7 separate regions of the Homo sapiens genome follow, and regions 1, 2, 3, 4, 5 and 6 are each linked to region 7. The links are contacts of gene promoters, found by promoter capture Hi-C in blood cells and fetal thymus (Javierre and others, 2016). All regions are on one chromosome and are shown on one strand. Each heading gives the region's core, a stretch centred on a gene start or on the middle of the fragment in contact. The rest is flanking DNA. Distances are from core to core; before and after follow the strand shown.

Region 1 (3,858 bases), core at 1,328-3,827, 340 kb before region 7:
ACACTGCCAAGAAGGGAGCTGGCCCTCCACATGGAAGAGCTAAATTCAGGCCTCACTGGGCCCCCTGCTGTCCACATTCCCCACCCCCAGCTCCCTTAAGGACCCCAAGTGTAGACGTCTAGTGGGTTCGTGTTGTGAGTTTGAAGGGCCCTTATCTTACATCCAATCACCTCTTGTTGATTTTTAACCAAGGGCTTCTGTAGGTCCTGTAAGGGATGTTTGCTTGCCCTTTGATCTGGTACTTTGATATCCTTTGTGAATTCTTCAGCCTGGAGAGGGCTGCCCAATCTGCCACACTTTTTCATTCAACAAACATCAGGGGCTGTTAAAAACAACCAGTGTGTGATTGGTTATTTCCAAAGGGATGGGTTTTCATGAAGTGGGGTGCACTCCCGTTAACCAGAGGCTGATACATTGTCAGTTATCTGCAAAAGGAATTAGCCACCTAAATGGTAATCCAGGGTTGCTCTGACCAGAAACTAAGGCTCAAACTAGCTAATTTGTGGAGATGAGACTCAAGGCCAAAACTGAATGAAGAAGATTCTCAGCACGCCCTCCACTTCCACTTCCACCATCACCATGGGTTCCTTGCTCCTCCTGGTGACAAGTGTGGTGACTGGATAGGGACACTTAGGTGGAATGTGGGGACACCTGTGGGGAGTCAAATGACCCACAAGGGCATACAGACCAGAACTTGCAACGTCATCACACCCCAGGTCTCCACATTCCCACGCGTGGACCTTCCCTTGTGCACATGCGTTCCCATGTGTGGACCTTCCCCTGTGCACCTGCGGCGTCACCTACCCACGTGAGTGGCCTATGTGTGTGACCTCACCCACAGAGAGAGGTCACAGCCCCTTCCCTCCTCTCTAGGGGAGAGATCTGGAGGCCAGAGGGGCCGGGGAGTAATTGGTTTTGGCGTTTCCTACCTCCGCTGCCCGGGAAGCTTTCTCTGTTTCATCTTCAGCCTGATCAATCCCCAGTCATGTGCCTTTCCACATGGACGCCCCCGACCCCCCAATTCACCATGCTCTCGGAAACTTCGTTAGTGCCATTAATCTGCTGACCCAAGCAAATCACCAACTCTTCCTGCAACACAGCCTCTCAATCCCTCCCCCAGAGACCACCCCCCCAGGATCTCCAGAGCTGGCTCACTCTCCTCTACCTCCTCATGTTCCCACTCACCCTTTTCTGTTTGGTACCCACCCCCAACCCCATCACTCCCAATCTGGGATTCTCCTTCCTCCTCATTCATGTCTGCACACTCAGCGCTTTCTGAGTCTTTTCCTGCATGTGTGTCCCAGCAGGAGCTTAGTCCGTGTCGGCCACCGGCACCCTGAAGCTGAAAGGGTCCCACGCACCTGCTCCTTAGTAGTAGAGGGTGTAGGGTAAGGCTCTGGCCATAGGAACCATATAAGGAGGAAACTAACAGGTACTGAGCCCTTACTGTGTGCCAAGCACTGTGCCAGACCCTTTTACCCAGTTAGATTATTTAATCCTCACAACCCAAGAGGCAGTCATTATTTTCTCCATTTTATAGATGAGGGAAATTGAAGTTTGAGAGATTAATTATTTGCTCATGAGTAGTAGAGCTAAGATTGGGACCCAGATCTGCCTGACTCATAAACCATTTTTTCTGCTGTATAGAAAGGAAGAGCACCCCCATCCTTGAGCCAGGCCCTAAGACCTAGAAACTTCCTATGTGAAGGAGACCCTGACATGAGGTTTGTTTCTCCTTTTTCCTCTGTAATAGCTAGGTCTTGAGGTGTGTGTGTGTGTGTGTGTGTGTGTGTGTGTTCCTATCCTCTTCCTTTCAGCCTAGGAAGCATTCATGGTACCAGCCCCCTGTTGGGGGCCCCAGGTTGCAGGCTGGTGCCAGGATGCACCCCACTCAGCCGGCTCCTGGCCGCACAGGAGAAGGCCCTGTTTCCTCCGTGGCCTCCATGGCTGATGTGCTGGGCCCATTGTCCAGGCAGAAACAAAGACTGCGGATTTAAGCCGAGTGACCAGGCGGCTCTGCCAAGCAGAAAAGACCGCCCCCCTCGAAGCTGGGCCCAGCCGGGGGTTAGGAAGGGGACCCGAGAGAAAGGGGACAGGGAACCTTTGAAAGTAACTAATTAAAGGGCCTTTGCCTGCCCCCTCCCCCTGGGCGCCTAATCTCTCTGGGGCAGCAGCCAGACAATGTGCCCCTCCACCCTGCCCCCCTCACCCGAGTTTTAAAACAAGAGACAACTTGAAGTTAATGAGCGCCACCTGACGGGGGTCCCCTAATGAGAGGGGGCTGCTGGGCAGCTCACACATTCTCTGGTTCCATGAATAGCTCCCCCCGCCCCCTGAGTTTTATTCATCTAGGGCCAGGGGCAGGGGGCAGAAAGGAAGGGGCCCTGCTCAGCTCGGAGCATGTGGACTGTGGTTCAGGGCAAGGAGGGGGCCCCACAACCCCCTCCCCCATGGCCCATGCCCAGCTCTGAGGCTGAGGCTTACCAGGCTTTGGCCTGAGACCTGGGTGGCCCAAGACCCATCTGGGTAGCTCAGGGCCAGCCCTGCTGCATAGGCTCTTGGTCACTGGCATTGCCACTGGCTTTTCCCAACAGGGCAGTGAGGCGTAAGAGGCATTCTTTGGGACTGCTGTACTTGGTGGTGGGGACTGGGGTCAGGAGTCATTTGGGAGCTGGACTGAAAGCCTCGCTTGCATATTTGGGCAGTTTCCACCATCTCTGCCTCATCCATCTAACTCCGAAGTCCTGGTCTTATCTCTGATTCCTCCATCTCTGATCCCTGCCTGGCTGCCATCCCTGAAGCCCTCATTTCCTGCTTCCCTAGATCTGTTCTCCATCTCTCACCCTTCCTTGCCCCCAACAGTTGTTCCTCTCCCAGACTTAGCACCTTTTGCTCCCAGAGTGGGCGGGCAGTTTGTAAACCTCAGGAGACAGGCCCAGCCTCCTTGACGGGGTGTGTGGGTCCTGCTGCTGTGAGTGTGGAACAGCCTGGGGAGTGAACAAGTGTGCAGAACTTTGGGGAAGATGGGAAAATTGTGAATGACTCCAACTCTCTGCCCTCGAACTTCTTCTGCCCCAAATAACTATCCTTAAACCCACTGCCCATCCCTGTTCCCCATCCCAACCTGCACTGTAGCCCGCAATGAGACGTAGAGAACCAAAGACCCTGACTTCTGATAAATCAGAGAAACGGGAACCCAGGGCAGCCTGGTCTTTGCTTTGAGACGAGGAGACAACCAGCAGGCCTCCTCATAGTGACACCACAGAATTCCCCCTACTACCCCAAAAAGGCAGGAGCTGTCGGGGTAGCATTTGAAAGGCCTGAGGTGGAGGTGAGACAGGAACCAGACAGCCTGGGGGTCTCCAGCCAGCAGGGAGCCATGGACAGAGGTGACTAATTTCCCAACTACTCATGGTGAAAATATCACATTTCATGCTTTGTTGCCGATTCATAGAAAAATCCTATTAAAACCCAGTAGATTATTTATACAGTTTAAACAAATGATGATCAAAGATTTTACATGTTTTTAAAAGAACCCAGAGTTATGCAGCCTGGCTGGGGCTTAGGCAGAGTGTGGTGGATAAATGTGTGGTGTGTGTGGATGTCTTACTAGGGGAGGGTTAGGGGTAAGATTAGCTGGGCAGGCTTGGATGGGGAAGTGGTTACAGTCGTCTTTCCAGCAGGGGGCGACCTCTCCCCGGTGTTGACACCCCCTCCCAACACCCGATGAGAGCCCCACAGATGGGCAATGATTTCATGTCCCTTTTTGTCTGGTCATCCTCCCTTATAGCTCCTGGACCTGATTCAAACTGCCCAAAAGTGTAGCTGTGCGGGATTGGCGATTTAGAGACCATGATT
Region 2 (3,803 bases), core at 407-2,906, 300 kb after region 7:
TCCAGCCTGGGTGACAAGAGTGAAACTCCATCTCAAACAATAACAACAACAACAACAAAAAACAACTCAAATTACTCATGGCCCTGGGAATGGGGGCATTTAAAAAGTTAACCAAGGGAACCAACCTGGTTTCCACAAAGATGGCCACTTCTGGGTCAGCCCAATCATCAGTATCCCTGGGTCCTCAGCATCCCTTCCTACCTCTTTTGACTGGGAATTACGAGATTACAGCCCCACCTACGGAAATTGAGCACATTAGCACTGGCCATGCTGTACATACAGCAAATGAGAGGGCTTCATACTGTTACAACAATCTGTACCACAATTCTCTGTGCGGTCTGCCCAGCTCTAAATGACATGTCCTCAGAGGCATCATCATCTCCAAGTCCATGGAAACCATGCACTTACAGAAACCAGAACCTCCCATACCACATGTTACTAATGACCTACAACATCGACTTCGTCTGTATCATGCAGTGCTCAACATTCTGGTTGCAGCATCACATTTATCAATAATTTGATTCCATGCTGATTCCTTTACTTGGAGTATTGAGATCCCCCAGGTACAGTGAAGGTATGACCCTCTTAAATGGAAGACCAGGAGTTGTTTCCCCTATGCTATGGCAATCCGCCACCCGGAAGCACTTGCTGCACCAACAGCATTCCCAAAGCTTGCCTCTGCAGCCCTGTAGCACCCATTAGAAACACTTCTCACAATGAACTACTGTGCTGGCAAACCCATAACTGGACTGCCGGACAGCAAGCTCTGTGAGGCATCTAGGAAAAAAGCTCGCGAAATCCCGAGAAACACTCTTCACTCCGGAATAGCGTCACATTCTTGAGTCATTTGGGATGACAGGGGATATCCTGGAGCAGGTGTATTGGGAAGTCAGTGAACAAGAAGGCTAATTCATTAGTGGGCCTGCTAGCGTAGTATTTTAACGATTTCGCAGCCTTTAAATCATTGGTGGTCTTTAGCGTGCCGGATCAGCTGGTGGTGGAGTTGGAGGATAGATGGCAGGGATCTGAAGAAAGGTGAAGTGTAGATAGGAGTAGAGACAATATGAAGTTTAGAAAAGACTAATTGCTGGACGCGGTGGCTCATGTCTATAATCCCAGCACTCTGGGATGCCAAGGTGGGAGGACTACTTGAGACCAGGAGTTCGGGACCAGCCTGGGCAACGTAGCAAGACCATGTCTCTACAAAAAATAAAAAATTAGCCAAGCGAGGTGGTGCGCGCCTGCAATCCCAGCTACTCGGGAGGTGAGAAGATCGCTTAATTCCGGGAGGTCGAGGCTGCAGTGAGCCGTGATCGTGCCATTGCACTCCAGCCTGGGCAACGGAGCGAGACCCCATCTTAATTAAAAAGAAAAAAATACAGGAGAGACTGGGCTGCTTTGAAAAGTGGATTTGACGGGAATGTGGGGTTTGGAGAGATCTTATGTTTTCCAAGACTAGAAAAACATTGTGGTTCCGTTCAGCCCTCCCGGAAAATACGTAGGGGACTTAAAGAGCGGACCGAGTACCTGTTTGTTTCCCCATCCCTTAGCCGGCAGGGCTCTGGCAGCGCCCTGGGAGAACTTAGGGAAGGGCCTTCTCGCAGCGGTTACCGGAAGTGACGCATTCATTCTCGCGAGAACAAAGACGCGCGAGCATCGGCGGCCCGGAACCGGCCTTGGAACAACTGTGGAACCTGAGGCCGCTTGCCCTCCCGCCCCATGGAGCGGCCCCCGGGGCTGCGGCCGGGCGCGGGCGGGCCCTGGGAGATGCGGGAGCGGCTGGGCACCGGCGGCTTCGGGAACGTCTGTCTGTACCAGCATCGGGTGAGGCGGGGCGTGAGAGGGAGCGGCGGTGGGTTGGAGCGGCGGTGGGTTTGAGCGTCTGTGGAACACAGGGCTGACAGTGTGGGATAGATGGTTGGTGGGACCTTGGGCAGTATTTGGGGGCCAGTGGGCTTGTGTGTGTGTATTAGAGAGAAAGATACTATGCCTGTGTGTCCAAAGTTGTATTTGAGGTACTGGGCATAGATAGAGCTGTTGCGGGGAACTTGGGTATGACTGTCAGGCTGTGACCAGGTGTTTAGTGAGTGTGACAGTGCGTGTGTGTCTCTGTGAATGTGGAGTGTCAGGGTGTGTGAGGCAGATGCACGTCACAGTGTGTATGTAGGAGCACGAATGTGTGAGAAGAGGGCTGAAGGGGACTGCCTTTGGGAATGTGTGCGTCCGTGTGTGTGTGTGTGTGTGTGTGTGTGTGTGTGCGCGCGCGCGCGCGCGCTTGGAGGCCATATGATATCAGTGGGGACTGGAGTAGACAAGGAAGGCTTCATGATGGGTCCAGAGTTAAGCCTTTGGAAGCATGGATGGGCTTTGGAATTGGGGATGTATTCCAGGTCGGGACAGTATGAGGGTGAGTTGGTGCAGAGCATGGCTTCAAACGAAAGGCTATATTAGTAGATGGAGATGGGGGGCGCTCTAGTAGGTGGAGGACAGTTAACATCAGACTCAAGAATTTTACTTTGATTTAATAGAGAATGTTTAACCATTGTAGTAGCAGTTAAAAAATCATATTTGGGTCTTGTTTGTTTGTTTTTGTTTTTGAGACGGAGTCTCACTCTGTCGCCCAGGCTGGAATGCAGGGCGCGATCTCGGCTCACTGCAGCCTCCTCCTCCCGAGTTCAAGCGATTCTCCTGCCACAGCCTCCTGAGTAGCTGGGATTACAGGCGCCCGCCACCGTGCCTGGCTAATTTTTTTGTATTTTTAGTAGAGACGGGGTTTCACCATGTTGGCCAGGCTGGTCTCGAACTCCTGACCTCAGGCGATCCACCTGTCTCAGGCTCCCAAAGTGCAGAGATTATAGGCGTGAGCCACGGCACCAGGCCTGGGACATGTATTTTTTGATATACCGATAAAAGCTGTGAACCCTTTCCCCAGAAAAATGCACAGATGCACATTCACACAACCATGCATTGCCATTTGAGAGGTTCGTGCCTTCCTAAAGGACATTTTAGGTAAATAGACCCTGGACTAATAATTCCTGTAATATAGGCTTTGTTTTGTTGCCTGTAAAGTAAGTATAGTATAATAATTACATGCATCATGGATTTGAGAGTTAAATAAAATAGTAATGTGTGTAAAGCTAAATACGGTACCTGACCCATGAAAGCCCTCAACTGTTAGCACCTGCTGCTACTTTGTTGTTGTTGCTGCTATGATCATAATGCTCCTCATTAATTGGCCTTAAGGAAATGTCAAGATAAAAAGTGTTGTTCTAGGAAAATGGTTTTGTAAAGGATAAATTTGAGTGGAACAACATATGGGACAAGATGAACAGGTAAGATCTTACTAAAATGCCTGGGCTTGGCTTGTGAATAGAGAAGTTAATTCAAGAGGAAAAGTAATAATTTGTTATCTAAAGGAACATGGGTGTAGTGAGAAAGCTCGTAATTTGGGGTGGGAGAAAGGGGAGATAGGAGTCTACCTTGGGAAAATAGGCATATTTAGGGTAATTAGAATGACAACTGAAACTGTTAGAACTGAGGAAGTTTTGTGAACCAGGTTTCTAGATAGGGCATAGGAGAAAATCTTGGAGAAAGAGAATGGAAGGTGAAGGACTAAGGCATTAAGTCCTGTGATAGCAGGATAAGTAGTAAATTTAATAATTCTCACCATCAGAGGGAACATAACACACTAAAAAAAAAAAAAAGTGGGAGCCAAGTGCTTCCAGTGGCATGTTGCCTGTGTTACCTAAGCCTGCCTATCCGCCTGGTCATAAGGAAAAAGGATGCATGCTGGCAGCTTTTGT
Region 3 (3,513 bases), core at 32-2,531, 270 kb after region 7:
GGAATAGTTTAGGGATTCAGGGTTTATTAAGGAAGTAAAATCAACAAGGCTTGTGATGGTTTAATTGTGAGTGAAAAGGAGCTGGCCTTGTTGGGTCATAGATTTCTATCTTTATTCAGTGGGATAGAGAACAGTGGAAAAGGGCCCAGATGAGGAGATGAGGCACCTGGTGATGTATAAACTGGACAGTGGATCTCCCAGAGACAATGGTAATTCCGTGTGACAACTGCTGTGATGGAAGAAATGCAGGCTCCTATGGGAACACTAGAAATTGGTAACTGATAGGTACTAGAAGGCTTCCTAGAGGAGGTGGTGCTCAAAATATAAATAAAAGTCATATTAGTTTATGACAAAGCTTTCTCTGAAATGCTGTAATGTGGTTTTCTGAGTTTTTGAGAAGGTAATGACTTCTGAGCCAGCCAGGAAGGCTTCAGAAATGTGCTAAACCTTGAAGGATGGGAAAAACTTGGATTTAGGATGGGTAGGGTGGAACTACCCTAGGGAATGACAGAGGCAGAGAGTAATCAAATTGCCAGTTCAGTTAAGAAAACTTGGAGAAAGTACTAGAAAGGTGACAGGTCAGGGCCTGTGGAAAGCTGTGGTTCTATAGGCAGTGGGGAACCTCTTAATGTTTTGAGGAAAGAACATTAAACTGACTACTTTCTGTAGGATGGACAGGAGGAAGAGAAGGCATTAGAGGAAACATAAATGTATTCTCTACTTTGAATCTAACACTAGATGCATTGTATTTTTGTCTGATTCTTCCTCTGCCATAGGAAGGGGGTGAGGTGGGGTGGAGTGGAGTGGAGGTTGCAGTGAGCCAAGGTCGTGCCACTGCACTTTAGCCTGGGTGACAGAGTGAGACCCTGTCTCAGAAAAAGAAAAAAAAAAAGTTTGGCGAGGTGTACAATAAAAGCACGCCAGAAAGAGACACTCACAAAACAATAAAATTTTAATATTTCAAGATGAGTTAAAAGACATTAAGGAAATGATATAAGCCGTGGAAAAACCACATAAATCAGAATTAGAAAATCTCAGAAATGAGATGATAGTAAAAGTCACTTCACAACGTAGGGCCAGTTTACCTTACCAATGTCAGCTCTTGCCATTTTCTACTTCCTGCCCCATAACACTTCACACATACCTCTGTTGTAGCCCTTTTCTTATAAATTTATAATGATTAGAGTGTCTTCCTTTCCCTGATTATAAACTCTTTGAGGCTTAAACTGAGTCTTCCTCCACCTTGTACTGCTAACATGTTTTTAGCATAGTATACTTGGCATATTGTACTTAGCGTATGGTAGGTGTCCAGTACCTGTTTATCAAATGAATGACTGAAGCCCTGTACTAAGATAGGAGGAGTCGTACTAAGATAGGAGGAGTCAAAATAAGAAGGATAGAATGAATGTGAAAGATGTTTGGAAAAAGGGATTGATGGGACTTGGTGACTGGATGGGGGATTTTTGACTTTTGTTGACCATGTCAGCCATAGACATGTCCACAAAACTTAGGAATGAGGAGAAGAAGCTGGCTCAATTGTGGAGTAAATGATAAGCTAAATTTTAGATACGGCGAGTGGGAGGTGTTGGTGAGACCCTCAGTGGATCTGCCCAGTGGTTTACGTGCACTGAACCTTGCAAGGTAACTGCAGAGAGACTAGATCATGTATCTATCTAATCCAAAAGACCAGTATATACCAAACCCGGCAGGCCCATTTGTTTCCTGAATTGCTATAATGTTTATCTCTTTGTTTGCAGCTTGGCTTGTGGAGATGTTGAAGGAAAGTTTGATATTTTATTCAATAGAGTTCAAGCAATTCAGAAGAAAAGTGGAAACTTTGATGTAAGATGTTTGTTTTTACTGAATTTAATTTTACCTTTGTAGTCACACATAAAAATAAAGTTTGCACTCCTTTAAGTCTTGATTGAACACATACCATTTTTGTTAAATTGAGTTCCCTTCATGAGCATAGGAACTTAGTAGCTGCTGAGTGGCTGGGGGAGGGAGACCTATTTACTGTTTACTATTGATCTTTATATTTTTTGAATTTGAATATTGTTACTTTATCACTGTACAAAAAACTGAAAACAGACTAGCAACACTTCCCTAAGTGATTCTGACCTCTGGGTTTGGGAAGCACAGATCTATTTCATGAATGTGATGAGGATTAAGTCAGGTAACATACATACCAACCCATCACAAGCTTAAAAGCTCTATATGAATGTTGTGTATGGTTGCCAACTAGACTGTAAACTCCTAAGAGTACAGAAGAGAGTATTCCAGGTATGAGGATAATTTGTTCATTGGGTTAAAGGTTGGGTAAAGACAACAGGCAGGAAATGTGTTTTTTATACCTTGTATTTCTCAGATTCTAATATTTTAAGTTTTTTTGTTTCACACGGGGATTCTTTAAAGATCTATTTCTATGTGACTGTATATTCCAGGGAAGGATATGTGGAGAGAGCCATGAATGGCAGAGTGGGACTGGGAATTTGAGGAGCACTTGAATTCTAACTTACTTTAAAAGTTTAGTTCCTTGACTCTCTCTTACCCATCTCTAACTTGAATTTGACAGCCAAAGAGCCAAAACTTAATAATTCATAGAATCAGTAACTGTTAACAGTTGCTGCTAAAGAATTGTATATTGAAATCTGCAAATTGATTAAGAATTAAAAACTGATTTGAAACTATTAAATAACTAGTTGAATATTACTATCAATTATGTACTGTTTGATATTTTAAAATCTCATATATCTGTTTAAAAAACTCATTTTAGCTGCTGTTGTGTGTAGGAAATTTCTTTGGCTCCACCCAAGATGCTGAATGGGAGGAGTATAAGACTGGCATCAAGAAAGGTATAGAAATTATTTTTATTTAACATATGATTTCTAATAAAATTTCAAGGGCCAGAGTTCTTGCAGAGTTGTTTTTCATTATTTAAGAATTTAAGAGTTATTTTCAGTATTTAAGAATTTAAGTTGCTTTTCATTATTAAGACTATCCGGCGCAGTGGCTCACACCTGTAATCCCCGCACTTTGGGAGGCCGAGGCATGTGGATCACCTGAGGTCAGGGGTTCAAGACCAGCCTGGCCAACATGGTGAAACCGTGTGTCTACTAAAAATATAAAAATTAGCAGGGCATGGTGGCGCATGCCTGTAATCCCAGCTCCTCGGGAGACTGAGGCAGGAGAATTGCTTGAACCTGGGAGGCGGAGATTGCAGTGAGCCGAGATTGCACCACTGCACTTCACCCTGGGCGACAGAGCAAGGCTCTGTCTCAAAAAAAAAAAAATAAAATAAATAAAATAGCCAAGCTACAAGGTTGGGTGTAGTATATCCTTAGTGGATAGCTGTTCCACATTTAGGATTGCTAAATATGGGGAATGTGAATGCATGGACTATTTACTTTTAATATAAGTATTTTTTCTATAGAGAGGCATATCTTAAGTTCTAAAGCAGATCTGGTAACTATATGGTGTCATGTCTGTTTCCCTCACTAGCTCCTATTCAGA
Region 4 (3,665 bases), core at 1,166-3,665, 470 kb before region 7:
GGCCGACAAGGGGACAGCCAGCGGGACCCAGTGAGCCAGGGCCCCCCAACCCCACGGAGCCGAGGGCCCATAAGTCCAAAGTGCCACAGAGCCGGGCCCTGAGAGCCACACATCCAGGGAGCCAGAGCCAGGAGTCTGGAAAGCCAGGCCCAGCCAGGCCGGCTCCCGCTCTTGGAGCCCGAAAGAGAAGGAGGGGCAAGTGGAGGCTCCATTTTGAGAAATGCGTTTGTGGCTGTGGGAGATGGGAACCCCTCATTCTCCCCAGCACTCCCTGAGCAATCACTCTGGCCCAGGAGCACCCCCCTTTTAGTGGGCTGAGGAGAGCAGAGGGCTGGAGCTGGTTCAGGGCCGGAGACGGATCTGAAGAGTTGGGGAAAGTCTCCCTCCCACCCAAACTCCAAGGACCAGTCAAGCGGGGTCAAGTCTGCGATCACGAGTTCCCATTCTGCGGCGGGAAGCCAGGAGCCCCTGACCCATTCTCCAGAGTCCAGCCCCCCTTCCAGAAAGTGGGGGCGACTGGGGAACGCCGTCCCCCCGGCTGGATTCCACCGCGCATAAGTTGGGGGCTCCCCAGGCCGCCTCCCAGACCCGGCCCCCCTCACCTCCGCCGCGCTGCTCCATGCTCAGCCCCAGGCCGCCCCCAGCGCTCCACAGGCGCGCCGCCCGGCCCCGGCTCCGGCTCCGGCCCCGGCCCCGGCCCCGGCCCTGGCCCGCGCGCCGCCACTCGGAGCTGCCCGGCCCAGCCCCGCCTCCGCCTCCGCGGCGCCCCCGGCCCTGGCCAGCCCCCGCCCGGTGCGAGTGGGCGGCACCGCGCAGGGGAGGGTCCGAGGGGCGTCTCCGCCCCGGGGCGCGGACACGCGCAAGCACCCGCGTCACGCGAATCCGCCGGGGCGCACGTAGGGGCTGCTCGGCGGCAGTCGGGAGCCCTCCCTCCGACGCCCTGTGACTGCGTGTCTGGGGGCTCGGTTCGGCTCGACGCGGCGGCGGCGGTGGTCACCCTCAACCCCAGCCGGGGCCCCGGGGCCAGCGGCAGCTGGTCATTGTTCCAGCACAAAGGGCCACGGCGCGGCGGCGGCCGCCCCTCCCCCTCCGCTTCTCCAGGCGAAGCTTCCCTGACACGCTCTCAGCCTCAGAGTCCCAAGCGAGAGGCCGATGGCCGGCCGTCCCCCACTCTCCGGTGCCGGGACCCCGCGCCCTAGCCCGAGTAGGAGGCCGAGGCTCGATCCGCGCCTGCCCCACGGCGGGTTGGAGGCGGCAACCTGGGCTTCGCGGAGGCGACGCCACCTGGCGGCCGGCTCGGAGAACACACCCAGCCGCCCCCAACACGCGGGCCCTGCCCCACTCCCCGGCACGGTGCCCTTTTCCCCGCGAACCCAGGCCGGCCTCTGGCGCGACCGCGTGCTCCCCAGCCTCCCCTCGGGATCACTTGCTAAGAGAGAGGTCATTTATCGGAGAGGAGCGGCCCCTGGCTCCCCAACAATCACTGGGGCGAACCGGTGCAAGCCTACAGCCCAAACCTACACCAGCCTCACGGCAGACAATATTCCACTTCCTCAGGGTCAAGTAGTCTCACCTTCTCGCACACAATACAGTCTCCCTAACACCCACAAGACCTTTCCCACATGCAGCCGCAGTCTCAGCCGTCACGTGGGTCCGCGTTCCTTCTTTCCATAATCTTCCAGTCCACCTCACACACAGACACGGTGTCACAGGCCTGTTGGGCACAGGCTTCCACAACAATCCGCAGTCCTTCGCACCCAGTCACAGTCTCAAGTGCACTTAGTCTCCTAACCATCTTTCACGCATTGACAGCCTCTATTCACAGTCACTCACACAGACAACTTCTTACACGCCGTGCTTCACAAATATTCTACCGCACAGCCTTTCCCCTAGGGGTCTCGGTGACCCGGTCAGGTCAGCTGATGCCTGCATCCCTGGGCAAAGGCAGCCTTTCTCCCCTAACCACCCCCTCCCCCGCAGGGCCAAGGCCTGCCGGAGCTCGCCCGGGCCCCAGGAAGGAGCATCCCCCCCTTCCAGGCCACAGCCCTGGCCGGCTCTCAGCTCTATTTTTAGCTCCATGGACAGGGTTGTTTTTCTTTCTTTTTCCCTGGAAAGGGAAACACAGCCCAGCCACCCTGACTCACCCCAGACCCTCAGCCTCACAAGAACAGACTGAGCCCCTCTCCCCAGCAGAGCCCCCTCCTCTGGCCTTGCCCTGATCCCTGCCTCCTGGGGCACCGAGAGCCTCCTCCTCTTTCTGGCAGCCTGCCCAGCTCAGGCGGCAGCTGGGCTCAGCGTGTGTGTAGGGGTAGGGGGTGGGGCGAGGAGGAGGCATCGGGCTACTGCCCACTCCCTCATTCCCTGGGGGGAGGGGCTCGTCCTCCTTTTTCTAGGGGGGCAGGCCCACTCTGGTATTGAGGGAGCGTTTACACTCATGCATTTTCTGGGGGGAGGAGACTCCGACTCCCGCAAGGAGTGGAGGTGAGGGTAGGAAGGGGACCCGCAGGCGCTCAGGCAGCTGCTCTCTGGGCTGGCGGTAACAGGCGGGGGCAGCTGTCCACTGCCATCAAGGGCCTGTCTCCGAAACCTTCAGGGATGCAGACACCAAGAATGTGCTGGGGAGAAGGACGTCCAGGAGCCCGAGTTAACCCCAGCCCTGCCCAGCAGCCGGGCCCTCCTGCTCCGCCCCGGCTCCAGGGGGCGCTGTGCTCCGGTTCCCGGGAGAGGGCTTATCCCCGCTCCAGGCGGAGAATGGAACGCCGTCCGGCCTGGGACCAAGCAAACGCGCCCCGGACTAGGGTGGATTTCCGCCCCGTGGTTGGGTTGGGGGCACAGGCCACTGGTCTGCGGAGCTGTCACGTGCTCGGCGTCTGTTTACGTCTTGGTCTTCACCTGCGGGAGGCCAGGAAGCAGGAACCTCCGGGTGCGTCCCACCCGGCCCGCCCCCGTCGGTAGTCACAGGGCTGCCCCTTTCCCGCACCCAATACGCGACCGCAGAGTGCCCTGCCCGCTGTGGGTCCGCGCGGGCCGGCTGGCGCTGTCCCTGGGAGTGCAAGGGTGGCCAACTGGGCGCGTCCTTTCCGAGTGCATGTGTGTTCGCGTGTCCCAAGTGCGGGCGTGGGTCTGTGCACGCGTGTGTGGGGCCCGTCGGCGTGCGTTTTCGTGTCACTTCCCTGTTCGGACTCTTCGCGGGGACCCCACCAAGTGCGGACCCCCCTCCTCACCCCAACCCCTAGCTTCCCTAGAAGCGGAAAGTTCGTTCAGGAGCGGGGATGAGCGGGAGGCGGGAGTTCCTGCACCTCCGCCGCCCCACCACTCACCCAGCGCCACCTGCGCCTCGGCTCCAGTTCCGGCCCCGCTCCTGCTCCAGCGCGCCCACCTCCTCGCCGCGACAACGCCGGCTCCCTAGCCGGCTCCGAACTCTAGGTTCCGAACTCTGGGCTCCCGGCTCCCAGCTCCCGGCGCCCGCCTGGCCCGACCTGGTGGAGCGGGGCGGGGCGGGGCGGCTCAGGCCGCGCCCCCCACCCAGGGAGGGGAGTGGTCTGCCCCGCACTCCACCAGCAGCCGACCCAGTGCCCAGCCTAAGAGTGACTCGACGGTGGCCGAGGCTGCCCCTCTGGCCTCTGACTTCACAGCTTACTGGATTTGGTTTTTGACCTGGGGAA
Region 5 (3,400 bases), core at 484-2,983, 370 kb before region 7:
TCTGTTTTTCTCTGGAGAGGAGCTCACACGCCTGCCAGGCACAGTCATGCTTAGATACAGACATAGACAGATCCCCAAATATATCTTATGTGAAAGAAAAAAAAAGTTGCAAGACAATGTGTAATATGTACTGTATGAATTGTTAGATTATCTAATTTGCAAATCAGGTATATGCTTGGGGCACCAAGAAAGCAAAAGACAAAAAAAAAAAAAAAAACCAGACACAAAAACCTAAAAAACCCCACAACTTTTTGAAAGAATACATTTAAAAAATACTGAAATAAATATTAAAGAAAAAATTAAAACTTTGACTTTTTGCTTATTTTTTTTTTGTTTAGTATTTTAATTTTGAATTATACATGTGTAGGGCCAGGGGACAGAGTAACCATTTTTAGGCTTAGGGTTGCTTAAGTTCTAAGTCTGGCTATGATTTTATAAAAATATTTTATATAAATTTCAAAATTTATATTATATTTTTATATTATATTTACATTTTTAATTTTATTATAAAAATAAATTTTGTAAACTTTACATATATATTTATATCTATTAAATATTCATATATGCAGGGAAAGCAATCTGGATAAATACACCTCAACTTAAAAGTGGTTATATCTCTGAAAGACAGGATTTTAACATCTACCTTATATGTTTCTGTAACTTTTGACATTTTCACAATGAGTATGAGTTATTTTTGTAATCAGGAAAACAATGAAGGTTAAAAACAACATAAAATATAAAGTGCAGGCAGTGGACAGTTAGGCCTTGTCCAAGAATGTCACTCGTCAGTTGTATGGTTGTGTGTGGTCTCACCTCGGTGTAGGCTACTGAGATATTGCTGCCCAGTCTGAAGCTTCACCCTTGATTCACTGCAGTTTCCTTTGATTCCTCTGTCCTGCTGCTGCCACCTCTGACCTGTGTTCCCCTTGTCAGATGGGGCTTGCTTGACATTCATCTGACTATTAAGATTCCAACCCCTATTTTTCTCTTTTCCAGCTGACCCCCTGGAATTGACATTACCTCAGACCCTCTAATAAATCATCAGCTCTTTTTCCTATGTAAACAGACCCTCTGGGCTGTCTTCTTGTGTGATTCAGAGCTTTATGTAAATATTCTGGCAAGCTGGGTCAATATAAAATGTGGACGTGGGGCCGGGCATGGTGGCTCGTGCCTGTAATCCCAGCACTTTGGGAGGCAGAAATGGGAAGATTACTTGAGGCCAGGAGTTCGAGATCAGCCTGGGCAACATATCAAGACTTCCTTCTCTACCAAAAAAAAAAAAAAAATTAGCTGGGCATGACGGCATGCTCCTATAGCCCTAGTTACTTGGAAGGCTGAGGTAGGAGGATTGCTTGAACTCAGGAGTTTGAGGCTGCAGTGAGCTATGATTGTACCACTACACTCCAGCCTGGGTGACAGAGATTCTGTTTCTAAAATAAATAAATAAATACATACATAAGTAAATGAAATGTAGATACAATCATTTAAAGATATTGAGCACAGTGAGTTTTCATAAGCTGTGTTTAAATGGGAGGTAGCAATGGTACCAGCATAAAAGCCAGCTTTGGCCAGGTGCGGTGGCTCACTCCTGTAATCCCAGCACTTGGGAAGGCTGAGGCGGGCGGATCACTTAAGGACAGGAGTTCGAGACTAGCCTGGCCAACATGGTGAAACCCTGTCTCTACTAAAAAATACAAAAATTAGTCATACGTGGTGGTGGCCACCTGTAATCCCAGCTACTCGGGGGGCTGAGGGAGGAGAATCACTTGAACCCGGGAGATGGAGATTGTAGTGAGCTGAGATCATGCCACTGCACTCCAGTGCACTCCAGCCTGGGCAACAGAGTGAGATTCTGTCTTAAAAAAAAAAAAAAGCTAGCCTTTCCCGGGCGGAGGATGCTCACTGGAACACAGAGCCGGACAAAAAGTGGCCAGTTGGCAGCAAGGAGACTACAATGTTTGGAGAGGAGGGGTATCAGGTGGTGATGGGGGACTTTGATGGGCTGAGGGGACTTCTCTGAGTGGAGAATTCATCAGGGGCTGGTGCTTCCTGAAGACAAAGGCTGCTGGGGCCAACTGGGATTTACTGGGCTTTAGCTAATCCTTGGTTTGGAGACACACAGATTACCTGTCTGGCCTATTTGTTAATGTGTTATACAGAGATGAAAACCCAATAAAAGAGAGGCCTGGGAGAACAGAACTCCTGTGAGGTGAGAGGCCCCCTCCCCAATGTAAAGCTGATGGCCACTCTGAGTGGGTCTTGCTTGATGGATAGTTGGCTACCCAAGGAGAGAGAGAGGGAGGGAGGGAGAGAGGGAGAGAGAAAGGAGAGAGAGTTGAAAGGGAGGGTAGCACCCAGTGAGGGCTTCCAGTAACCATTTCAGAAAGGAGTCGATGGCACAGATGGGAGAACTGCAAAAAAAATTTAAAAAGAAAGAAAAAAAGACAAACCAAAAATAAAGGAGTCAAGAGGCAGGCGGGGGAACCAAACCTTGTTACACCTGTAAGATTCTTGATTATGTGTGGCTTCCTCAATCGTGTTGTTTATATTTTCCACGTCTGTTTCCATGGTGATTAGCAGTAAATCAGTAGCAGCAAAGCAATAAAAGCTTTAAAATAAAATGTATTTGTCTTTGGGGAGCAGCAAGAAAGGAGGAGCTGGGGAGGCTGGCAAAGGTACCTCCCCAAGGAGAGGAAAGCAGGCTGGTTCCAGGACCCACTGCAAGAAGGTGAAGGAGATCTAGACTTGGCAGCAAGCTTGGGTGGAGGAGGATCCTTGGGGCTTATTTAAAAAACAACTACAACAACGAAAACCCCAGCCCTTCTATTATTTTGCTTGTCCTTCCATTGTGGCATTTATTTCACACCTACTTGGAGATAATAAATTACCCTGTGGTCTGGGTGCGGTGGCTCACGCCTGTAATCCCAGCATTTTGGGAAGCTGAGGCGGGTGGATCACTTGAGTCCAGGAGTTTGAGACCAGCCTGACCAACATGGAGAAACCCCGTCTCTACTAAAGCTACAAAAACTAGCCGGGCATAGTGGCACACGCCAGTAGTCCCAGCTACTTTGGAGGCTGAAGTGAGAGGATTGCTCAATCAAGCCCAGGAGGCAGAGGTTGCAGTGAGCTGAGACTGAGCCACTGCACTCCAGGCTGGGTGACAGAGTGAGATTCTGTCTCAAATAAATAAATATGTAAATAATCCTGTGATCATTTGCTTTTATATTTTCAGCTAGATGTAAGAATGAAACCATGTCTCACGTGTTCCTATATTCCCAAGCAGCTGATACAGAACAGGGCATGTTTCAAGGGCTCAATATATTTTTCTTTCTTTTTTTGGTTAAAAAGAATCTTACTTCTATATACATATGTATAATGCATAAATGTGCCCTTTTTACTT
Region 6 (3,922 bases), core at 1,093-3,592, 390 kb before region 7:
CAATAATTCAAGAATATTATATTAGAACACTGTATTTTTGAGACAAGGTCTCGCTCTGTCACCCAGGCTGGAGTGCAATGGTGTGATCAAACTCACTGCAACCTTGATCTCCTGGGCTCAAGCGAGCCTCCCACCTTAGCCTCCTAAGTAGCTAGGAGAACAGGCACATGCCACCATGACTGGTTATTTATTTATTTATTTATTTGTAGTAGAGCCAAGGTCTCGATATGTGGCTCTGGCTGGTCTCAAACTCCTGAGCTCAAGCAATCCTTCCACCTAGGCCTCCCAAAGTACAGGAAGCAGGAGGATCGCTTGAGGCCAGGGGTTCAAGGCCAGCCTGGGCAGTATAGGGAGACCTGTCTCTACAAAAAAATACAAAAATTAGTCAAATATGGTGGCAGGTACCTGGAGTCTCGACTACTTGGGAAGCTGAGGTGAGAGCATCATTTGAGCCCAGGAGTTTGAGACTGCAATGAGACATGATCACGCCATAGCACTCCAGCATGAGCAACAGAGCAAGACTGTCTACACATAAATAAGTAAGACTATACTTGCCTTAAAAAAAAAGAATGCTTACTTTTCTGACTAAAAAAGATCTTTGTTCCCAGTCTGAAAAAACTAAGGATAAGAAACACTGCTTTACTGAGTTCGATGAAGGGCAACTGGAGGAAATGTAATGAAACCAGCTTCTACACAAACTGTGCATAAGTATTTCCTTCAGGAAAGACGTCAATGTGATGTAACAACTCTTAAATATTTTTAAATTTAGTATTCTAAATATGACATAGCAGTAGCAATGCTAATTCAATAATTCTTACACATACCACATTTGACAGATTATTTTTTCCAGGTATGATGTCATTCTGTTTCCTTTGTTCCTGCCTTGGTTTATATTTTCTTTCTATACTAGATTTTAAGGAAAGACTGCTTGCTTCTGAGAAAGAATTCTCGGAGTTGATTCTCTGCTCCATTTGCTCCTTTCTCAACCTCTTTAGTTCTCGTTCTCTGCAGTAAGAAGCTAGTGACAACTGGAATTTAGCTCCCAGTGGGCTTTCTTCCGGGTGGTGCCTGGACAGGCTGCTCCTGCTGCTAAGGCTTCTGGAGCTGTTATTGAAGATGTCAGCTTCTGCCACTGTGGTCTGCTTTTTGGAGTCTGCATTGGTTTTGCCTCGATCTCTATCATTCTTCTCATTATTTTCATGAATGAATAGTGACTTCCTTCTCTCTGGGGATCGATGTTTTTTCTTTAGTGACTTCATCTCCTTTGGCAAGTGATATGAAGAAGGAACATAGATATTTGTTCCTTTGGCTAAATATTTGGAGGCTAGTGACAGACAAGGCCGACGTGACTCATGTATACCATGATCTTCATGGTGCTCTTTAACACCTTTCATGAAAGCTTCTATAATAGGGCTCTTTTCTGGTGGCACCCTTTTGGGTTTAGATTCTTTTGGTGAGGATAGTTTCCTTTCAAACTGCTCTGTCCCAGTGATAGACAATCTACTTCCTCCATATTTGATGTTTGATTTTTGTGGTGAATCCAACATGTGTCTGTCTAAATAGCCAATTAAAACACATACAAATTGCATGTTAGTAAAATATTTAATATTTATCTAAATTATTAATGTTTAAAATATAAATTAAACTATACTAATGTTACCACAAAAATTTTCAAACCAACAACTTGGATAATGATACACACTTTATTGGGGGGTATAGGAGAAATTAAGAGATGATTTATTTGTTAAAAGCCTTAGTTTCATAAAGCTCTCTTTTGGTACATCATATAACCTCCCTATGGCTCTATAAATTACTGTATTAGAGAATCAAAATAGTATGTATTATGAACATTAAATTTTTTACTAGAATAATATTTTAAATGTAAGAAAACATAACAGCAAAAAGACTTTCATATTTAGAACTTCAGTTTATCCTTGTAAAACAAAATACTGCATCTTCATTTTATTTTCAATTTTGAACACTACGTTTACTAAAACAGTTTAGAGTAGGTTTTAAAGTTGAATCTGTCTCTCTCCTCACCCCCAAAATAGCCCACAAAAAATGCATCAACAGTGTACATACCTTGTTTTGAAGCTGGTTTGAAGAAATCTATAATTGACTGCTTCCTGAAAATAAAAGCATAATATGGCATCATATAAGCAAATATTAAAACCTTCATAACTCAGATTAAATGGAGAAAGATTTATAAAATAAAGGCTGGATTTCACTATTTGGTTTAATAAAGTTCTGACAATGGTAACAATGCTTTGCTAAACTGTTCATTAAAAAAACAGAAAATATAACGTATCACTTCCTATAGGAGTTCATTTATAAAAATACAACTGAGGTTTATATTATTTATAGTACTTAAATAGGTCAGACTGGTGTGTAGACCCAAGGAATTAGTACAGAGTGCTTCTTAAGACTGAAATGTTCACGGCTACATGGTAGAATGCAACATCTTGGGTATCAGCATATGAACCTACTTGTTCTCTGCAGACATTGATACAAAATAATTACTTGGTATCTAAGCACAGCTGCGTTTTAAAATTTAGAATAACAAGCTAAAAAAAAACTCAATAGATGTATGCCAAATGAATAATGGGGATTATAAAAATGGAGTAAAACTTGAACAGACTCTCATAACAAGAGTAGAACAGTAGATGGTAGAATGGCAATACAGGTGATTTGGCTGATCTAGGGAATCAGTTGAAGAGGAGTTTGCTGGACAAGGGCAGAAAAGAAAAATACCAAACTTATGCTACCCTCTTTATACATTAAGATGTTAATCTAAGTAACAGCAGAAATTAGAATGAGTTGTCACAACTAGTTTCAAATTCTTAATTTTTTATCAAAGAATCCTTAAGATAGTTACAAAAATAACACATTGCTTGGGAAAAACACAAGGAGAAAAGGAAGAAAGTTAACAAGAATAACAAAAACCAAATTAATTTTTAAGAATTTCTGTACCGTAAAGACTGGATTTCATTATCTGGCTTAACTAATCAAGTTCTGACATTGGCAATAATGCTAAAGTGAAATAGGAATCCATTACCAGAATTCGTATTCTGATTTGTTCACTGTAGAGTTGTCAGCTGCAAAAAAGGGGATGTTATGATATGCTGAACAAAAAATTAACTTTCTGGTAAATTTTGCTAAAATGTATCATTTTACTGAAAGAGAATAAGCTATAGACTATTGATTTCCCTAAACATTCATCCACTATGAGGTTGGAATGCTCAGTGAAAATTCCAACAATCCAAGTTTCTTGAAGGTTAAGCTTCTTGTACACTTTACTGGTCACATTAGAAGAGCAATGCACATCTTTACTGGTTTACCAAGTCCATCACGCTTGTTTGAGATGCTGGTATAAAAGCTAAGTGCTTATGAGATGAATATGAGTGACGGGCTATGGAAGAATATATGCATTTGTTTACATAAATTATACTAGGCAAATTAACTCCACCAGAGTAAATGTTGGAGGTTCTGCAAAGGGAAGAAGGATGATACCTTGTTATTGATCTTGTTATTGATTGAGGAGAGATGGGAAGGGACCCAGAAGCAGCTCATTTGTTGCACACAAGATAATTCTAAATGCATTTTACTAAATGTAACACTGTATCTCTTCCCTAAAATATTGGACCTCAGACTCCTTTTTGATTAATACACCAGAAAGAGAAAAAATGATTTTGGGTAAAACATACAAGAAACCTGTAAAATAACCATGAATGTAACTTTCAAGAGGTAGGTTCTCTAAGTTCATATGCACACAAAATGTCCACTGCTTATTTAACAACTGGCTTAAAAAAAAACACACACACACACACAATTATAACAGTTTCACAAACCCTTATCTGAACCTTCTGGGGCCAAATGTGTTTTAGAATTCTGAATTTATCAGATTTTAGGAAGGGGATAACTT
Region 7 (3,725 bases), core at 640-3,139:
TGTATAAATAAAATATTGTACTGTACATTCATATAATGGAATATTATACAGCCCAAAAAGGAATGAAGTACTGATATGTGCTACAACACAGACAAACTTTGAAAACATTATTCTAAGTGAAAGAAAATGGACACAAAAGGCCACATATTGCATGATCCATTTATATAAACTGTCTGAATAGGCAAATCCATAGAAACAGAAAGTAAATTAGTGGTTGCCAGTGGGTAGAGGTAGGGGCAACGTGCTAATGTGTATGGGTTTTTTCGGAAGCAATAAAAATGTTTTAGATAGTGATGATGATTGCACAACTTTGTAAATGTACTAAAAATAACTACTGTACACTTTAAAAGGTTTTTTTGTTTTTGTTTTTGTTTGTTTGTTTTTTGTTTTTGAGACAGTCTCACCCTGTCACCCAGGCTGGAGTGCAGTGGCGTGATCTCGGCTCATTGCAACCTCCATCTCCTGTGTTCAAGTGATTCTCTTGCCTCAGCCTCCTGAGTAGCTGGGATTACAAGTGTACACCACCATGCCCAGCTATTTTTGTATTTTTAGTAGAGATGGGTTTTTGCTGTGTTGGCCAGGCTGGTCTTGAACTCCTAACCTCAAGTAATCTTCCCACCTCAGCCTCCCAAAGTGCTGGGATTACAGGCGTGAGCCACCGCACCCGGCCTAAAAGGGTGAATTTATGGTATGTGAATAATATCTTAATAAAAATAAATAAATTAGATCAACTCTGTTTCTTGACCTAAATTGGATCAGGGTTTGCTATTGGTTGAATGCAGATGTTGTGCAATTATTCTGAACATCAACTAGTGATGTCATTTACAAGACAGCAAGTTGCTGTGTAGTCCTTCCCAAAATTTATATATTAAATAGTATATATCCATATTTGTTTACTTTTTATAACTTAAAAAAAAAGAGACGAAGTCTCACTATGTCACCCAGGCTGGTCTCAAACTCCTGGTCTCCAGCCATTCTCCAACCTAGGCCTCCCAAAGTGTTGGGATTACAGGTGTGAGCCACAGCTCCCAGCTTATATGCATTTTTATTGCTCTGATATATACTTGAGAATGTTTATAATAATAGGTTCTGCTCCAAAACAGTGGTCACCTGAAAAGTCACTGGAAATACGTGCATATTTATAATGTGTAAGTTATTCAAATCCCAAGTGAAAACATTCATATGCAAACATAATAATGTCTCCAATTCTTCTGTTGAGTTAGTTTGTTCATTATGGGCCGGTTTGTAATTTGTTTTATCCAAGTCCTACCAACTCTGAGGCTTTAAGCTGTCTCTGGAGAGCTGCCTCTGGTGATAAGTTTAATTTTACATTTGTTGGGTTGAGGTGACTGAGACATGCAGATGGAAACACGGACTGAAACTAAGGAGCCAATTCAGGGCCGAATTGTGTGTTGCACTGGCGTCTAAGTGAAGATCAACCCATTTGGAGAACAGAACAACAAGCAAGACCAACAGGTGAATTTGAAGAATGATCATGTTTGGGGATGGAAGGAAGTGCCCGTGAAGGAGAGGAAAGCAAGCAGCCAGAGAAGAGAGTAAGACAGGCTCATTTCACTAGTACAGCTCCTGGGGGAGGTGGTTAAGCTGTCTACCTGAGTTGCTCAGGTTCCGAGTTCCCATCATCCCTGGATGGGTCTAAGTCAGCTCAGGGAGAAAAAGGACACAACATTCTGAAATGTCAGAGACCTGCCTGGTTTTCCCTTCTTCCCGCTTATCCTTCCCAGCCTCTATCCAACCCTTGGCTTCCCAACTGCGTATTTAAACCCCGCCCCTGTTGAACCCTTCGGCTTTTCTTCACTCCCGGCTTCCTCCGTCACGTTTGGCCCGGCTCAGCCGCCGTGACAGGCCTTTGCGCATGTGCAGAAGGGAAACGTGAAGAAGGTGAAGATGGCGGTGGCCAGGGCCGGGGTCTTGGGAGTCCAGTGGCTGCAAAGGGCATCCCGGAACGTGATGCCGCTGGGCGCACGGACAGGTCCGCGAGAACGGGCGAGACCTCAGTGTGGGAAGGGGGTACCTGAAATTTGGTGTATCGGGAGGGGGGATCGTAGATGCCGCGGCGGCAGCCTCCGGGTAGGGAGTGGAGGTGGCGTTGATATATCCAGAAAATGGGGTGGAGGATCGCACTGATCCTGCGAAGTCCCGGGCTCGGACCTCTGCAGCCCCTGCGACTTGAAGCCTTCGGAGCGGCTGGAGAGCGGGCTCGCTTCTGACCTGTTCTCTTCTGCGTTCTAGCCTCCCACATGACCAAGGACATGTTCCCGGGGCCCTATCCTAGGACCCCAGAAGAACGGGCCGCCGCCGCCAAGAAGTATAATATGCGTGTGGAAGACTACGAACCTTACCCGGATGATGGCATGGGGTGAGACAGAGAGGGTATGCTCGCACCCAAGTAGTGATGGGAGAAGGCCGGCTGGGTTGGGTGGCTTGACTGTGACCCTTTTTCCCGAACCTTCTCGTGACCCCTCAGAGTCAATGGAGTGGGTGCTTTTCTCTGTGGAGGGAGGTGGGAGGGGGGTGGGTGAGCAGCTGCAGCTGAGAGGACTTCAATTTTCTCCTTGGCTCAGGCTGTTTCCTCAAATGAGGAAGCCGAGGTTTTAATGGCTCCCTCGAGGACCCCCGAATAGCAGGAGCCTTCCTTGGCTCTATCCAGAGCGTCGAGTTTCATTTAGATTGAGCATCTGCTGCGCTCAGGTGCTGTCATCCAGGCATGTGACCAGGCTGGAGCTGGACTCCTGTCATGAGAATCTTATTTGTAAACGGAGTACTCTATATTTGTGTGTATGTCTCTTTAAAAAAAATGTTTTTCTGTTAGTGCTGTGGAAATCGTAGCAACTATTAAGCAGATTAAACAGCCAGCCCCCTTACGTACTCCAGTTGATGTTATCCTATCCCTTCCACACTCTTCCGTATCCATACCCACATAACATCCCAATGGTTAATTATCTGAAGTGATTATCATCGCCTTTATTTCCTGTCCTAATGTCACTCTTTCAATCTTGGTTTCAGCAACTTCTATTCTTCTTGTTATACACTCATTTTCTGTAGCATATGTCTAGTTGTCATCATTTCCTGTTTTTTCTTATGTTGTGGACAAGAGCAGCCTTGTTCGAAGCCAGTGTCAGATGAACCTGGATTTGTTGGGGAAAACCCAGCTTAGCAAGAGGTCCCATGAGGTGTTTGAGACGCAGAGATGAATGCCAACTGGGTGGTCAAGAACACAGTTATTACGAGAAGAGTGCTTTTCTAATCTGTACCCTTTTTGTTTTTATTCCAATTAGCTGGGTGACTTTGGATTCAGACTCTAAACTTTAATTTTTCATTTTCTATCTAATGAGGGAATCAGAGTACAGTCATATGTCACTTAACAACAGGGATACATTCTGAGAAATGGGTTGTTAGGTTATCTCCTCATTGTATGAACATTAGGAGTGTACTTACAGAAACCTAGATGGTATGGCCTGCTACACACCTCGGCTTTATGGTATGGCCTGTTGCTCTGAGGCCACAAACCTGTACAGCATATTGCTATACTTAATACTGTGGGAAATTGTAACACAATGGTATTTGTGTATCTAAACATAGAAAAGGTACATAAAAGTATGCTATAAAAGATAAAAAATGGGCCAGGCACAGTGGCTCACGCCTGTAATCCCAGCACTTTGGGAGGCCAAGGCAGGCAGATCACGAGGTCAGGAGATCAAGAC

What was found. Contacts are between HindIII fragments. The CHiCAGO score rates a contact against its expected background, and 5 or more counts as called.
Region 1: a contact is called between a fragment that was not itself captured here and the fragment with the promoter of NDUFB8 in region 7, in 3 of 17 cell types (endothelial precursors, M2 macrophages and M0 macrophages). The highest score is 9.7, in endothelial precursors.
Region 2: the fragment with the promoter of CHUK here is called in contact with the fragment with the promoter of NDUFB8 in region 7 in 5 of 17 cell types (monocytes, erythroblasts, neutrophils and 2 more); the score reaches 6.6 in monocytes.
Region 3: a contact is called between a fragment that was not itself captured here and the fragment with the promoter of NDUFB8 in region 7, in 3 of 17 cell types (naive CD8 T cells, total CD4 T cells and M1 macrophages). The highest score is 10.0, in naive CD8 T cells.
Region 4: a fragment that was not itself captured here is called in contact with the fragment with the promoter of NDUFB8 in region 7 in 3 of 17 cell types (activated CD4 T cells, naive CD8 T cells and naive CD4 T cells); the score reaches 8.1 in activated CD4 T cells.
Region 5: a fragment that was not itself captured here is called in contact with the fragment with the promoter of NDUFB8 in region 7 in 2 of 17 cell types (endothelial precursors and M0 macrophages); the score reaches 6.7 in endothelial precursors.
Region 6: a contact is called between a fragment that was not itself captured here and the fragment with the promoter of NDUFB8 in region 7, in 4 of 17 cell types (naive CD4 T cells, naive CD8 T cells, naive B cells and 1 more). The highest score is 6.4, in naive CD4 T cells.

The regions. Positions count from the first base shown.
Region 1 is chr10:100,872,265-100,876,122 of GRCh38, reverse strand. No RefSeq gene overlaps it. Among named protein-coding and RNA genes, the nearest start is that of SLF2, 39 kb to the left of the region's middle. RefSeq lists an enhancer at 1,435-2,101 and a silencer at 3,576-3,645. The HindIII fragment of the contact is 3,257 bases long and covers 949-3,858 here.
Region 2 is chr10:100,227,449-100,231,251 of GRCh38, reverse strand. CHUK (component of inhibitor of nuclear factor kappa B kinase complex) reads left to right here and starts at 1,656. Exons shown (of 21, transcript NM_001278.5): 1 at 1,656-1,824. The coding sequence starts at 1,720. CHUK-DT (CHUK divergent transcript) reads right to left here and starts at 1,592. Exons shown (of 4, transcript NR_186419.1): 1 at 1,528-1,592; 2 at 126-237. RefSeq lists silencers at 347-609, 1,679-1,918 and an enhancer at 1,519-1,568. The HindIII fragment of the contact is 6,397 bases long and covers 674-3,803 here.
Region 3 is chr10:100,260,308-100,263,820 of GRCh38, reverse strand. It overlaps CWF19L1 (CWF19 like cell cycle control factor 1), which reads left to right. Exons shown (of 14, transcript NM_018294.6): 2 at 1,758-1,842; 3 at 2,777-2,855; 4 at 3,502-3,513. Among named protein-coding and RNA genes, the nearest start is that of CWF19L1, 5.6 kb to the left of the region's middle. The HindIII fragment of the contact is 1,848 bases long and covers 358-2,205 here.
Region 4 is chr10:100,996,890-101,000,554 of GRCh38, reverse strand. It overlaps LZTS2 (leucine zipper tumor suppressor 2), which reads right to left and starts at 747. Exons shown (of 5, transcript NM_001318100.2): 1 at 603-747. RefSeq lists silencers at 606-985, 1,086-1,495, 3,286-3,575 and an enhancer at 3,659-3,665. The HindIII fragment of the contact is 2,612 bases long and covers 1,110-3,665 here.
Region 5 is chr10:100,894,781-100,898,180 of GRCh38, reverse strand. No RefSeq gene overlaps it. Among named protein-coding and RNA genes, the nearest start is that of SLF2, 16 kb to the left of the region's middle. The HindIII fragment of the contact is 1,755 bases long and covers 856-2,610 here.
Region 6 is chr10:100,914,203-100,918,124 of GRCh38, reverse strand. It overlaps SLF2 (SMC5/6 complex localization factor 2), which reads right to left. Exons shown (of 20, transcript NM_018121.4): 2 at 2,083-2,126; 3 at 825-1,555. Among named protein-coding and RNA genes, the nearest start is that of SLF2, 3.2 kb to the right of the region's middle. The HindIII fragment of the contact is 1,881 bases long and covers 1,402-3,282 here.
Region 7 is chr10:100,528,035-100,531,759 of GRCh38, reverse strand. It overlaps NDUFB8 (NADH:ubiquinone oxidoreductase subunit B8), which reads left to right and starts at 1,889. Exons shown (of 5, transcript NM_005004.4): 1 at 1,889-1,993; 2 at 2,254-2,380. The coding sequence starts at 1,909. RefSeq lists enhancers at 1,417-1,466, 1,600-2,182, 3,025-3,194. The HindIII fragment of the contact is 5,505 bases long and covers 1-3,725 here.